2 separate regions of the Homo sapiens genome follow, and region 2 is linked to region 1. The links are contacts of gene promoters, found by promoter capture Hi-C in blood cells and fetal thymus (Javierre and others, 2016). All regions are on one chromosome and are shown on one strand. The core of a region is centred on a gene start or on the middle of the fragment in contact, and the rest is flanking DNA. Distances in the headings are between cores, read along the strand shown.

The links. The method cuts DNA at HindIII sites, captures the fragments that hold promoters and counts their contacts. A CHiCAGO score of 5 or more calls a contact.
Region 2: a fragment that was not itself captured here is called in contact with the fragment with the promoter of TTLL3 in region 1 in 2 of 17 cell types (monocytes and erythroblasts); the score reaches 6.4 in monocytes.

Annotation. Positions count from the first base shown.
Region 1 is chr3:9,806,882-9,813,732 of GRCh38, forward strand. TTLL3 (tubulin tyrosine ligase like 3) reads left to right here and starts at 3,381. Exons shown (of 14, transcript NM_001387446.1): 1 at 3,381-3,513; 2 at 3,740-3,828; 3 at 6,062-6,230; 4 at 6,367-6,464. The coding sequence starts at 3,781. It overlaps ARPC4-TTLL3 (ARPC4-TTLL3 readthrough), which reads left to right. Exons shown (of 12, transcript NM_001198793.1): 5 at 6,062-6,230; 6 at 6,367-6,464. It overlaps ARPC4 (actin related protein 2/3 complex subunit 4), which reads left to right. Exons shown (of 6, transcript NM_005718.5): 6 at 1-220. RefSeq lists an enhancer at 2,453-2,602 and a silencer at 3,083-3,562. The HindIII fragment of the contact is 3,571 bases long and covers 1,169-4,739 here.
Region 2 is chr3:10,082,776-10,089,626 of GRCh38, forward strand. It overlaps FANCD2 (FA complementation group D2), which reads left to right. Exons shown (of 44, transcript NM_001018115.3): 33 at 3,037-3,147; 34 at 4,359-4,489; 35 at 5,674-5,767; 36 at 6,053-6,175. It also overlaps a transcript of FANCD2OS not described here. Among named protein-coding and RNA genes, the nearest start is that of FANCD2OS, 22 kb to the right of the region's middle. The HindIII fragment of the contact is 7,979 bases long and covers 1-6,851 here.

The sequences.
Region 1 (6,851 bases), core at 2,131-4,630:
GGGTGCCCTCCCAGTTGAGAGGGGCCGCTGTTTCGCCTTGTCCGTCAGTGCCAGTGCCTGTGCCAGAGGTGGCGAGGTGAGTCCTCCAGAGCTTCCTGGCCGGGCCCTCCTCCTGCCTGTTCTGGCTCCTCTGCTCCCACGCTAGCTGTCCCTTTTCTGATTCTGGTGGATCCTCCCTCCCCTAATTAAAGTCTCTTTTTGCCCCTTTGGGGCTGCATGAGGTCTATGCTGTGTGTGTGTGTGAAAGGAGGGGAGGTGGGGCTTCTTTTCCCTGAGACCAGATGGCTGGTAATTGTGCCTGGAGCTCCCCACTGGGTGCAGTCTCATGATTGGTCCTGCCATTATTCCTGCCAGGGGTCCCAACCCAGAGACTCCATTCATTGCAGTCCAGGCACCATTAATTTCTGAAACTGCTCTGTCTGCCTATACAGAGCTTTGGTGCTTTTCACATAAGGAACTTACTTGGGCTAAAAAGTAACCTCAGAGAAACAGTGCTCCCATTTGGTGGATAAGGAAACTGAGGTTCCAAACATGAGATGTAATAGCTTGCCCCAAATCTAGCCAGTGAGCAAGAGAGTAGACTTTTGCCTGTGCCAAAACAGTAATCACCATCCACAAGTGGCTATTTAAATTTTAATTATTACAATTAAATAAAGTTTAAAATCCAGTTCCCCAGTCCCACTGGCAACTTAACAGCTACCAGTGACTGTACCATATATAACAGCATATATAGACATACAGCATATACAACACATACATAGAGATTCCCATCATTGCAGAAAGTTCCATTGGATAGTACTAGACCTTAGTAACACCTTGAAGTAAAAAGACAAAAGACCCTTGTGTTTGAGTCCTGATTCTTCTTGCCAGATTTGGCTAAGTTACTTCTATTTTGTGTCTCAGTTTCTTAGTCTATGAAGTGGAGATAATGAATATAAACAATCTGATACGGTCGCTGCTACACAGGTACTGACTGAACTATATTTTTTCCACCAGCCCAGTGGCTGGGCTGTTGAATAATTTCCAGTGTTCATGATGTTTATCCTTGCCTTGAGGCTTGGAGGTCCAGGAAAAGGGCTGGGTGTGTAAAAGGTTCACTGAAGTGTTTCATATTTAATATTGGAAGTCTGGGGGCCAAGGGGTAAATATAGGAGTGGGTGTCAGGGTAAGCTTCAAGAAGGGTGAACCTTTGAGCTGAGCTTTCAAAAGGGATTCCTCCAGATGGCCAGAGGGGTTTCTTCTGATGGGGTGGACAAGGTGATGTTAAAGGGAGGAGGGGGTAAGGGCAACTTGGAACAGCTATTGCCCCCCTCCTCCCCCCCCCTTTTTTTTTTTCATTTTTGAGACAGGGTCTCGCTTTGTTACCCAGGCTGGAGTGCAGTGGCGCAAGCATGGCTCACTGCAGCCTCAGCTTCCCCAGGCTCAAGTGATTCTCCCACCTCAGCTTCCTGAGTAGCTGGGACCACAGGCCTGTGCCACCACGCCCAGCTAATTTTTTTGTTTTTGGTTTTTGTTTTTTTTTAGGTCTCACTATGTTGCCTCGGCTGCCTTGGGTGATCCCCCCGCCTCAGCCTCCCAAAGTGCTATCATCTCCTTTATGACATTACCTCTGTGACCTACCTCGCCACCCCTCTGAATTAGGTGTTCCCTCCTCCAGGGCACATGGCTATGTTCTAGCTTTGCAGTGAATGTTAAAGGTGCTCACAGTGAAACTGGGTGACTAATAGGATATAGCAGCTGGTCACTCAACAACCCTCACAGGACAGCATTGCCTGGGTGAGCCAGCCACAAACCTCATTTGTCATGTATCTCTCTCCCAGGGTCCAAATTCCCTAAATCACCTTTCCTGGGGGGCATGCTTTTCGGGAAGTCCAGCCATCAGCTAAAGGGGAGTTGGGGTCAGCTGGACAGGAAGGTGGGGGATCCACCTTCACTCTTAAGAGCACATCTACCCAGTGACTGACAAAGCTGGGCTCTTACCAGGACACTCTTCGACTCTGCCTGCGGGGGCACTGCTAGAGTTTGCCTCTCAAACTGTCCCTGTGTGGTCCTTCTGTGACTGGCAGGCAACCTGAGTGATAACAGGTGTTTAAGAGACAGGCTTTGGAGTCAGACCTGGGTTCCAGTGCTGCCTCTGCTCTGTGATTTGAGGCAAATTGTTTAACATCTTGGAGCCTTACCTCCCCTGTGACTTTTGAGGATAATATTTTGCCAGTGCTTCCAAAAAGGTTGCTTACAGTCTTAGCCTGGGGGCCAGGCATAACTGTTGTGAACTATTACATTTCTTTCGCAGTTGACTCAAATGATTGTTTTTCCATTTCCAGTTTCTGGGGAGGGTGTGCTCTGCACCTTCTTGTTACCCCCATATGCTGCCCTCGCTAAGGACCTTACCCTAGGCCCATCTGCCAGGCCCAGCAGGTCTGATCTGGCCTCACCAGGCTCCAGCCACCCTGGCTGTCTTGTAGTTCGCACAGAGGTTCTTACCCTTCTCAGGGCTGTTGCTGGGACTGTCCCTTCCCTGAAGTGCAGTTCCTCCCCTTTCCCTGGTGACTCCTGACTCCTGGCATTTACACCTTCAGCTTAAATGCGCCACTTTATCTAAAATGCGCCCCCTTCCTGGTTTCACCTCTGCTTGTTCATTGCCCTTATTATACCTGTAAACTATTCTCTTCCTTTGTTACTTGCTTTTTATTCCCCTCACACTGGGCTTTTAGTAAGCTCCATGAGGTCAGGGGCCATTTGTTAGCGCCTATAAATACTGTGGAATCACTCAAACCCTAGGGCCGGTGGCACCAGGAAGTACTGGATAAGGAACCGCAACACTAACTAACTGGGGCTCAGTGCTCTCTTCCGCCTTCAGTGCCCTGCTCATCAAGGGTCTGGGTGAGGCCCCAGGTCATAAGGAAGCCCTCGCTCGACTGCCCCGGGGCCCATCGCAGCCCCCAACCAGCCCCGAGCGGTCTGATGGTGCCCAGGGAATGGTTTCCAAGGCAATAGCAAACGGGGCGGGGCTTGGAACGGAGGACAAGGCTCGAGCCTAGGCAGGAACTTCCCGGGAGAGGAGGCGGCGACGCGGAGGGGCGCGGGATCAGGGGCCCTGGGAGGGCGAGCGCGGCGAGGGGCGCATGCAGGGCCCCGACGCGCCACTGCTCCTGAGCGCGAGGGAGCTGGGGCCCGGGCGCCGGGGCTCGGCCTCCTGGTACCGCCAGGAGGGCGGCGCGGTGTGCAACTGGCTGCGGAAGCCGCAGCCGCTCGAGCCACGCACCAGTTTCCCCTCGGCGCGCCGCTCCGAGTTCCGTCCACCCAGGAGGCTGCCATGGGCCGGCCCTGCCTCCGCCCAGTCCGAGGAGGGTCACGCAGGCGGCAGATGCCAGGCGGGCAGCCCCGCCCCTGCGCGCCGCCTCAGCGGCGCCTTCAAGACGCTGGTCCCAGGCACCCACGCCCAGGGCGCCTCGGATACCCACCCCCTCGGCCCCCCGCACACCCCGGTCCTCGACCCCTCTCCGCAGGATGGTGAGGCCCGTGCGGCCCGCTCGCTCTGGCCTACAGCGGCTGCGAGGACGACAAGACGCTGGGGTGGAGGGACTGGGGGTCGGGAGAAGAGCGGCTGAGGGTGGGCATCTGGATGAAGGCAGGAGGAAGAAAAGAGGCGTGGCTATGGGCGGCCAGAAAAGATCCTAGGCCGAGACCCTAGGCCCAGCCTCAGTGTACCCCGCCCCTATTCCGCATCTTTCTGCAGGTTTCCCGGTCCTCTGGCGAGGATCCTCCAAGGCGTCTCACATGAACCGGCTCAGAAACGCCAAAATCTACGTGGAGAGAGCTGTCAAGGTCAGAGGAGGGGCAGGGGCGCTTAGAAAGGGCCCTGGGAGCGGCTCAGCCTGTCTCCCTGCGCTGTTTTCTTATATCCTTAAAAAACAAAAGCAAAAGAAAAAACAATAGCAAAAATCCTCAACCACCACACCCATCTTCAACTACCTCCCCGTTTACCCCTTCAGCACCAAACTTCTGGGCTCCCTCCACTCTGGTTCCCTGCGATGTCCCACTCTAATCAAGGTGCCTGGTGAGTTCCAGGGAGCCAAACCCAGCAGTGCCTTTCGGTCTTGATCTCGGTTGGGCACCCTGTATCTTTCGACACCGCTGCCCCACACACCCTTCCTCTTGGCTGTCTGACTGCACGCTCCTAGTTTTCCTTTCTCCCTCTTTGGCTGCTGCTTTTCAGCGGCCTTTAAAGGTTCCTCAGCCATTAGTGGCCCCCTGGCCCCTTCCCCAGGTCTGTCTCCTTTGGCTGTGTCCTTGGCTGAGTCCAGTCAGTGTGCTGCACCCTCTCCGTGCCCCTTCCAGCCCAGCCTCGAACTCCACATCCCGTAGATCTAGCCCCTACCTGTCATCTACACCCAGAAAACTTAACAAGCATTTCAAATTCATGTCCCAAACCAGACTTTGATCTTCCTGCCCAAACCTGTCGTCCTCCCCAGTCTCCAGTCTTTCCCATCTCTCAGTTCCTCACGCCAGAAATCTCATCTTTCTGTTTCTTCACCCACAGGTCTAATTCCATCAGCAAAACCACTTGTCATCTCCACCTCCAAAACGATTCTCAACTCTAGCACCTTCTCCCGTCTGTGTTGTAACCACCTTCATTTTAGTAATTGTGATTTCTCTCCTAGGCAAACTATGACAGCCTCCTAGCTGGTCTACCTCCATCCTGTCCCCTCATCTTTTTGTAATACAGCAGCAAGCCAAGCTTAGAAAGATTCCCTCAGTTAGCCTTTTTTGCTCATGACACTCTTAGTATGAAATCCAAGTCCGTTCCAAGGCCTGCAGGGCCTTCCACAGTCTGGCCACTGCCTACCTCCTCTGGGGCTTTCCCCATCATTTTCCATGTTCCACTCACTCTGGTCTCCCTTCAGTTCCTTCTGACCTCTCTCCAGCCTCAAGGCCTTTGCACATGCATTCCCCTCTGCCTGAACCGCCATTTCCCAGCTCTGTACATTCATGGCTTCCTTTCAACCTTCCCTGACCATGTATTTCTAAGTAGTTTCTCTGGATCCCATTAAGTATGCAGTTTCTGGAGCCAAACTGCCAGGATGTAAATCCCTGCTCTTTTGCTTAACCACTATGGGGCCTCAGGCACCCTGCTTAATTTCTCTATGCCTCTGTTTCATAGCCCGTAAAATGGAGATAACAGTATCTAATAAAAATGCATAGTATTGGCCAGACGCGGTGGCTTACACCTGTAATCCCAGCATTTTGGGAGGCCAAGTCAGGAGGATCACTTGAGGCCAGGAGTTGGAGACCAGCCTGGCCAACACAGTGAAGCCCAGTCTCTACCAAAAAATATAAAAATTATTTGGGCACCAGATGAGGTGGCTGACGCCTGTAATTTCAGCACTTTGGGAGGCCAAGGCGGGCCTTGGCCTGAGGCCAGGAGTTCAAGACCAGCGTGGCCAATATGGTGAAACCCTGTCTCTACTAAAAATACAAAAATTAGCCGGGCGCAGTGGCACACGCCTGTACTCCCAGCTACTGGGGAGGCTGAGGCAGGAGAATCGCTCGAACCCGGGAGGTGGAGGTTGCAGTGAGCCAAGATTGTGCCACTCCAGCCTGGGCAACAGAGCAAGACTCCGTCTCAAAAAAAAAAAATTATCTGGGCGTGGTGGCATACACCTGTAATCCCAGGTACTCAAGGAGACTGAGGCAAGAGAATCGCTTGAACCCAGGAGGAAGAGGGTGCAGTGAGCCGAGATTGTGCCACTACACTTCAGCCTGGGCAACAGAGTGAGACCCTGTCTCAAACAAAACAAAATAAAAACACACAGTATTGTTAGTAATGCATGTAAGTGCTCAGCATGTAGTAGGTCCTCAATAAATATTAGCCATTGCTATTATCATTATTACCATGCATATTTATTTCTCTACTTATTTATAGTCTGTTTATTTCTCCTAATGGAATATAAAAATTTCCTGATGGCAGAGTCCATAACTGTCTGGTTCACCTTTATATCCCCTATGTCTGGCACTTATGCAATACTTATTGAAGAAGTATCCTTCTCTCACATTGCAGCAGAAGAAGATCTTTACAATCCAAGGCTGCTACCCGGTGATCCGGTGTCTCTTGCGCCGGAGGGGCTGGGTGGAGAAGAAGATGGTCCATCGCTCAGGCCCCACCCTGCTGCCACCCCAGAAGGATCTGGATAGCTCAGCGATGGGTGACAGTGACACCACTGAGGATGGTGAGTGGTTCCTTCCCTTTCCACAGCTGTTGCTCCTGAGTCCTTTTCCTTTGGTTCCCACTGTCCCAGAGTTGAGGCCTTATGGGCTATGGGTCAGGGAGAGGAAACTCATCAGCTCTGGGCTCTGCATCCACAGAGGATGAAGATGAGGACGAGGAGTTCCAGCCATCACAGCTGTTCGACTTCGATGATTTACTGAAATTTGATGACCTAGATGGAACACATGCTCTGATGGTGAGGGCCCTGGGGGCCAAGATGATACAGGGACTGCCTGCTTAGAGGGAGGGCATTGGTGTCCAGCTGGGTGACCTCAGACAAGTCCTTTCTTTCTCTGGGCCACAGTTTCCCTATCTGTAGTAAAAACTGCTTCTTTAAAGGCTGGATAGAGCTGGACATGGTGGCTCATGCCTGTGGTCCCAGCTACTCAGGAGGCCAAGGTGGGAGGATAACTTGAGGCTAGGAGTTCAAGACCAGCCTGGGCAACATAGTAAGACTCAGTCTCTACAAAAAAAGGTAGAAAAACATTATCCGGGTGTGGTGGCATGTACCTGTAGTCCCAGCTACTCGGGAGGCTAAGGTGGGAGGATCACTTGAACCTGGGAATTACAGGCTGCAGTGAGC
Region 2 (6,851 bases), core at 1,971-4,470, 280 kb after region 1:
CTCATTTTATTATAATTACTTGTTCATCAGTCTTTCCTGCTAGACTCTGAGCTCCATGAAGGCAGATGTCTGTCATTTTTATATCCTCATTACTTAAAAGCAGTGCCTGACAAAAACTTTGAACAATTTATCAAAGAGACTTATAGATGGCAAATAAACATGTGAAAGGGGCCTGACATCGTGGCTTATGCCTGTAATCCCAACACTTTGGGAGGCCAAGGTGGGTGGATCACTTGAGCTCAGGAGTTCGAGACCAGCCTGGGAAGCATGGCAAAACCCTGTCTCCATAAAAAATACAAAAATTATCTGGGCATGGTGGCATGCATCTGTAGTCCCAGCTACTCAGGAGGCTGAGGTGACAGGATGGCTTGAGCCTGTGAGGCAGAGGTTGCAGTGAGCCAAGATTGCAACACTGCACTCCAACCTGGGCAACAGAACCAGACCCCATCTCAAAAAAAAAAAAATCTGGGCCCCATGGCCCAGTGAAGTTAACACAGAAAATAAACCATCTCTAAAAATTATAAAAACAATTAAAATAAATACATGAAAGGATGTTTATTACTTCTTAAGGAAATGCAAATTAAAAGCACAATGAGATAGCACAACACACTCACTAGCATAGCTACATCAAAAAGACTTAGCATGCCAAGTGTTGGTGAGAAGGTGGAACAGCTGGAGCTCTCACATGCTTCTAGGGGGACTTTACAATGGTACATCCATATTGGGAAATAGTTTGGTAGTTTCTTAAAAAGCTAGACATGCACCTACCATGTGACTCAGCCATTCCATCCTTAGGTATTTAATCAAGGGAAATGAAAGCATACGTCCACCGACCAGGCGCAGTGGCTCACGCCTGTAATCCCAGCACTTTGGGAGGCCGAGGCGGGCAGATCATGAGGTCAGGAGATCGAGACCGTCCTGGCTAACACGGTGAAACTCCGTCTGTACTAAAAATACAAAAAATTAGCCGAGCGTGGTTGCAGGCGCCTGTAGTCCCAGCTACTCAAGAGGCTGAGGCAGGAGAATGGCCTTAACCCGGGAGGTGGAGCTTGCAGTGAGCCGAGATCCCACCACTGCACTCCAGCCTGGGCGACAGAGCAAGACTCCGTCTCAAAAAAAAAAAAAAAAAAAAGGTATGTCCACCAGGGTCTGGTACAGGAATATTTTGAGCAATTTAGCCTGTGGTTTTACATAGTATATTCTAAACTTGTTTCCCATGCTTTTGTGTGTGTGTGAGAGACAGAGTCTCACTCTGTCGCTCAGGCTGGAGTGCAGTGGCGCGATCTCGGCTCACTATAACCTCTGCTGCCCGGGTTCAAGCGATTCTTCTGCCTCAGCCTCCTGAATAGCTGAGATTACATGCGCCTGCCACTGCACCTGGCTAATTTTTGTATTTTTAGTAGAGACGGGGTTTCACCATCTTGGCCAGGCTGGTCTTGAACTCCTGACCCCGTGATCTACCCACCTCAGCCTCCCAAAGTGCTGGGATTACAGGTGTGAGCCACTACACCTGGCTTTTTTTTTTTTCTTCCCTGAGACAGGGTCTTGCTCTGTTGCCCAGGCTGGAGTGTAGTAACACAATCACAGCTCACTGCAACCTCTGACTCCCAGGCTATAAATCCTCCCACCTCAGCCTCCCAAGCAGTTGGGACTGCAGGCATGTACCACCATGCCCAGCTGATTTTTCCTTTTTTTTTTCTTTGGTAGAGACGGGGTTTCGCCATGTTGCCCCCAGGCTGGTCTTGAACCTCTGGGCTCAAGTGATCCACCCGCCTCAGCCTCCCAAAGTGCTGGCATTAGAGGCGTGAGCCACCATACCTGGCCCAAATTCAACATTTTAAGTACATGAAGTGTATTGTACATCAACTATATCTCATTGAAGCTATGGTAGACCAAAAACCTGACACCTAATAGGCCCTCAGAATACATTTGTTGAAAGGAAGAATGACTATCACTGGTGATCAGGAAGATGCTTCTAGAGGAGAAGATCTAGGACGTCAGATTGTGCTGGGCCTCAAAGGTCAGGCAGAATAATTTAAATGTTGTCCAGGGAAGCCATTTTGGAGTTTTATGATCACAGCCATAATACAATGAAAGCAGTGGTTTAAGAAAACACTTCTGGCAGCAGAGTGCAGGACAGATTGAAAAGGGATGCAAAAAAGAACACTCAAAAGGTGTCACTATGATCTACACATGTATTGATAGGGGCCTGGCCAAAATGATGGTCTAGGCTTGGAAAGGAAGGGACAATATGAAAGGTAATCCAAAGATAGAAATGTCAAGACTTGACTCATTAATGTAGGAGAAGGGGTAAGTACCACTATGGGCTGGACATTGATTTAGCAGTTTGACAAAATTATTCCTGTATTTTTGAAGAAGACTACATATCTCTAAAATATAGGGAATGAAGGAGAGCTTTTTGCCCTTCAAAGTAAACCTATGGCCCAGGCGTGGTGGCTCACCCCTGTGAAAAGAAAGAGGAAAGAAGAAAAGAAACCTATGAAGACTTCAGGAAAGATTACTTTGGATGTACTTCAGTTTCTACTCTGATACTTAGAGCTGTGATTGAATTTGGTACTTCAGTACTTTCCATTTCAATTCTTTTTTCTTTTTTCTTTCTTTTTTTTTTTTTTTTGAGATGGAGTCTCGCTCTGTCGCCAGGCTGGAGTGCAGTGGCACAATCTCGGCTCACTGCAGCCTCCACCTCCCGAGTTCTAGCGATTCTTCTGCCTCAGCCTCTGGAGTAGCTGGGACTACAGGTGCCCGCCACCACACCCAGCTAATTTTTGTATTTTTAGTAGAGACGGGATTTCACCGTGTTGGCCAAGATGGTCTCCATGTGTTGACCTCGTTATTCGCCCGCCTCAGCCTCCCGAAGTGCTGGGATTACAGGTGTGAGCCACCACGCCCGACCTCTCAATTCTTTTTTCAAACCGTTAAACTATTGATGGTACAGACTGGAGGCCAGGATCCTTAAATACTATCCAAGTAGTTTTCCAGAAACTAAGCTAACCCCTCTTACCTTGACTTCCTTAGGAGTGGATTTTCTCAACCTGAAAATCAGAATTTACTGTATTCAGCCCTCCATGTCCTTAGTAGCCGACTGAAACAGGGAGAACACAGCCAGCCTTTGGAGGAACTACTCAGGTGAGTCATAACTACATAGCCAAGATTGTTGTCCCAAGAAACTCCTAGGAACAGGATTGGCAACTTTCTTTAAAATAACCTGGGTGTCTTTCAGTAGTTGTAAAGGAAATTATTTTCAGCTACTCTCCTCATATATGAGCTTTCTCATCTATGTATTCTGATAAATCCTGAAGTATTAGAAACCTTGAATAATCATGCTAAATCTTCATGAATGCATCAGCCCATAAACTCAGCCTTTTCAAGTAATAATGATGAAAACATTGACCATCTGTAATCAACTCTTGATTATCCAGGGACCTACTGTCTCCCAGCAGATTTGGGTAATTAGGCAGCAGCTAGTTATCACTGATAGCCTGTTTCTTTCCCCTTGTCTTGTAGGAAGACCTTATGTGGCTGAGGGGTAGGCAGTGGACAAGGGAGGTGACATGATCTCAGGGGCATGGCTTTCGGCCCCCTCCCCCTTCAGTCAGAGTGACTTGGTCTTTCTCTCACTTCCCTTGGTAACCTAGACCATCACTGGGTCAGCAGTCAGTGCTTATCATCCCTGTCTATAGGTCAGGACCTTATATCTTCTTTTTTTTTTCTTTGAGAGAGAGTCTCACTTTGTCACCCAGGCTGGAGTGATCCCAGCTCACTGCACCCTCCACCTCCTGGGCTCAAGTGATTGTACTGCCTCAGCCTCCCAAGACGCTGGGATTACAGGCGCATGCTGACACACCCTACTAATTTTTATATTTTTGTAGAGATGTTTTCGACATGTGGCCAGGCTGGTCTCTAATTCCTGAGCTCAGGTGATCTGCCTGTCTCAGCCTAGCAAAGTGCTAGGATTACAGGCATAAGTCACCATGCCCGGCCTGTGAACCCAGATTTTACAAATTATTTTCAGTGTATTGCCTAAGGCTTTAAAGAGCAGATAATTTATCTAGGGTTGTACATATTAGCGTGGTGCTTGGGTTTCTCAGCATACATGACCCCTTCAAGGCCAACATTCCATCAGTGGGGCTGTCTTCTGCCCTGGCTTTTTCCATACAAAGGTATGGTTTTCTACCAAGATGCTTGAAGAGGGTTGCTACTAAAGCACCTGAAAATAAGGAGGATTCTGATTAGGCCGTCAAACACTGAAAGGGACTTGGGCACGTCATGTGGATTTAAATATATCTGTGACACATAGGATACTATTGCATTTGTTTGTTTTTCTTGTCTCCTTACAGCCAGAGCGTCCATTACTTGCAGAATTTCCATCAAAGCATTCCCAGTTTCCAGTGTGCTCTTTATCTCATCAGACTTTTGATGGTTATTTTGGAGAAATCAACAGCTTCTGCTCAGAACAAAGAAAAAATTGGTGATGGGCCTAGATCCTTTTTTTTTTTTTTTTTTTAATGAATAGGACTAATATCTCACACTTACAAACTTTGGGCTTCCCAGGACATTTTTACATGTAAATCCCCACATAACCTTGGATAGGCCCTCTTGCTATACCAAGAAGGTCATTTTCCCAGAACAACCTGACTGATTTCTGCTAAAATTGCTTAGTCTGAGTTTGGTTAGACAAGCTGAGTAGATAGTTTTCTCTTTGGCTTAAGTTTAATCATGTTCTTCCTTTTCAAAAAAAAAAAATTTATCTGAGACATTTGACAAAACGAGACATAAATCATGAGGTTAATAAAGTAGGAAATAAAGGAGAAATCAGGGTCAAGTATAAAAGAAATACTGGCCTCTTCCCTGGCCTTTTTCTTTTTTTTTGAGACAGAGTCTCGTTCTGTCACCCAGGCTGGAGTGCAGTGGTGCGATGTTGGCTCACTGCAATCCTCTACCTCCCAGGTTCAAACGATTCTCCTGCCTCAGCCTTTCAAGTAGCTGGGATTACAGGTGCGCACCACCGTGCCCAGCCAATTTTTGTATTTTTAGTGGAGACGGGGTTTCACCATGTTGGTCAGGCTGGTCTCGAACTCCTGACCTCGTGATCCACCTGCCTCAGCCTCCCAAAGTGCTGGGATTACAGACGTGAGCCACTGTGCCCAGCCCTGGCCTCTTTCTTAAACTGTCTTTTATTGTAGCTCTTAGAATGCAGCTCATCCTAGTTGGCAGCACATCAGAAAGCAAGATAAAAATGCAAAACAAACCTTTATTTATCCCTATTGATTAAAAGGGGAAGGTTTGGTCTCAATCTTGGAGGTGACCACTGCTATTGGCCAGCCCAGGAGGAACAAGATTGGCCTTCCCACTGCCCAGCAGCATTCCTTTTCTCTGTGTGTCTGTATTTATGTTCATGTTTGCATGTTTGTGTGTTTCAAGATGGGGTTGGGGTGGGACGTGTTGAGCCTTAGGCAAATGAGTTTATGTCTGGCAAAAGGGCCAGTGGATCAGGAACGTGACAGCTTTTTGTAAGTTGCCTGTTAGACCGGGAACGTCTTAGTAAATCTAAACTAATAATCCTTTTGATCAATAATCATCCTCAAAAACCTGAAAAGCAAGAATGAGGTCAAGTTCCCATATGTAAGATTCCTTTGTCTTCTTTTCTAACAGCTTCCCTTGCCAGACAATTCCTCTGTCGGGTGTGGCCAAGTGGGGATAAAGAGAAGAGCAACATCTCTAATGACCAGCTCCATGCTCTGCTCTGGTGAGATGTTTGGTTTCTTCCAATGAGCCAAATAGCTTTTTTCTATTTTGCTACTGTTGTTTGTCAGAGACTGGACAAATGACCTTTTTAGTGGGAATTTGAAAACAATGAAGTAGGTTAAAAATGAACACAATTTGGAACATGTGGATCTTAAGATCCTCTGGTTCTGTTTTATACTGTTAGCTAACTGCTTATTGTTAATTCAGATCATAGAGGAATTAGAGGAATCTGTAGTTGTATTCTACTTTGTTAATTAGTGGGTCAAATATTTGACTCTCAATGCAGTATCTACCTGGAGCACACAGAGAGCATTCTGAAGGCCATAGAGGAGATTGCTGGTGTTGGTGTCCCAGAACTGATCAACTCTCCTAAAGATGCATCTTCCTCCACATTCCCTACACTGACCAGGTAAGGGAGTTCTTTCCTCCAGTTTTTCCCTTAAGATAGAATCATCATCAGGCTGGGCACGGTGGCACACACCTGTAATCCCAGCACTTTGGGAGGCTGAGGCAGGAGGATCACCTTGAGGTCAGGAGTTTTGAGACCCACTTGGCCAACATAGTGAAACCCTGTCCCTACTAAAAATACAAAAATTAGCCGGGCGTGGTGGCACATGCCTGTAATCCCAGCTACTTAGGAGGCTGAGGTAGGAGAATTGCTTGAACCTGGGAGGCGGAGGTTGCAGTGAGCCGGGATCGCGCCACTGCACTCCAGCCTGGGCAGCAAGAGCGAAACTCCATCTCAAAAAAAAAAAGAATCATAATCACACTGTCCAACGTATATAGCTTCCACACAACTGCCTTGCTCCTCCTCATCTAATTCTGATACAGACAGTAGATATAATCATTCATTCAATAAAGAGAGTCTGTTATGCATTCCTTTCAAGGGCTCTCAGCTAATATATTTGAGAGGACCATGGTGGTTTTTGTTTTGTATTGTTTTGTTTTGTTTTTGAGAAAACTTGTCACCCAGGCTGGAGTGCAGTGGCGTAATCTCAGCTCACTGCAACCTCCACCTCCTGGGTTCAAACGATTCTCCTACCCCAGCCTTTCAAGTAACTGGGATTATAGGCACCCACCACCAC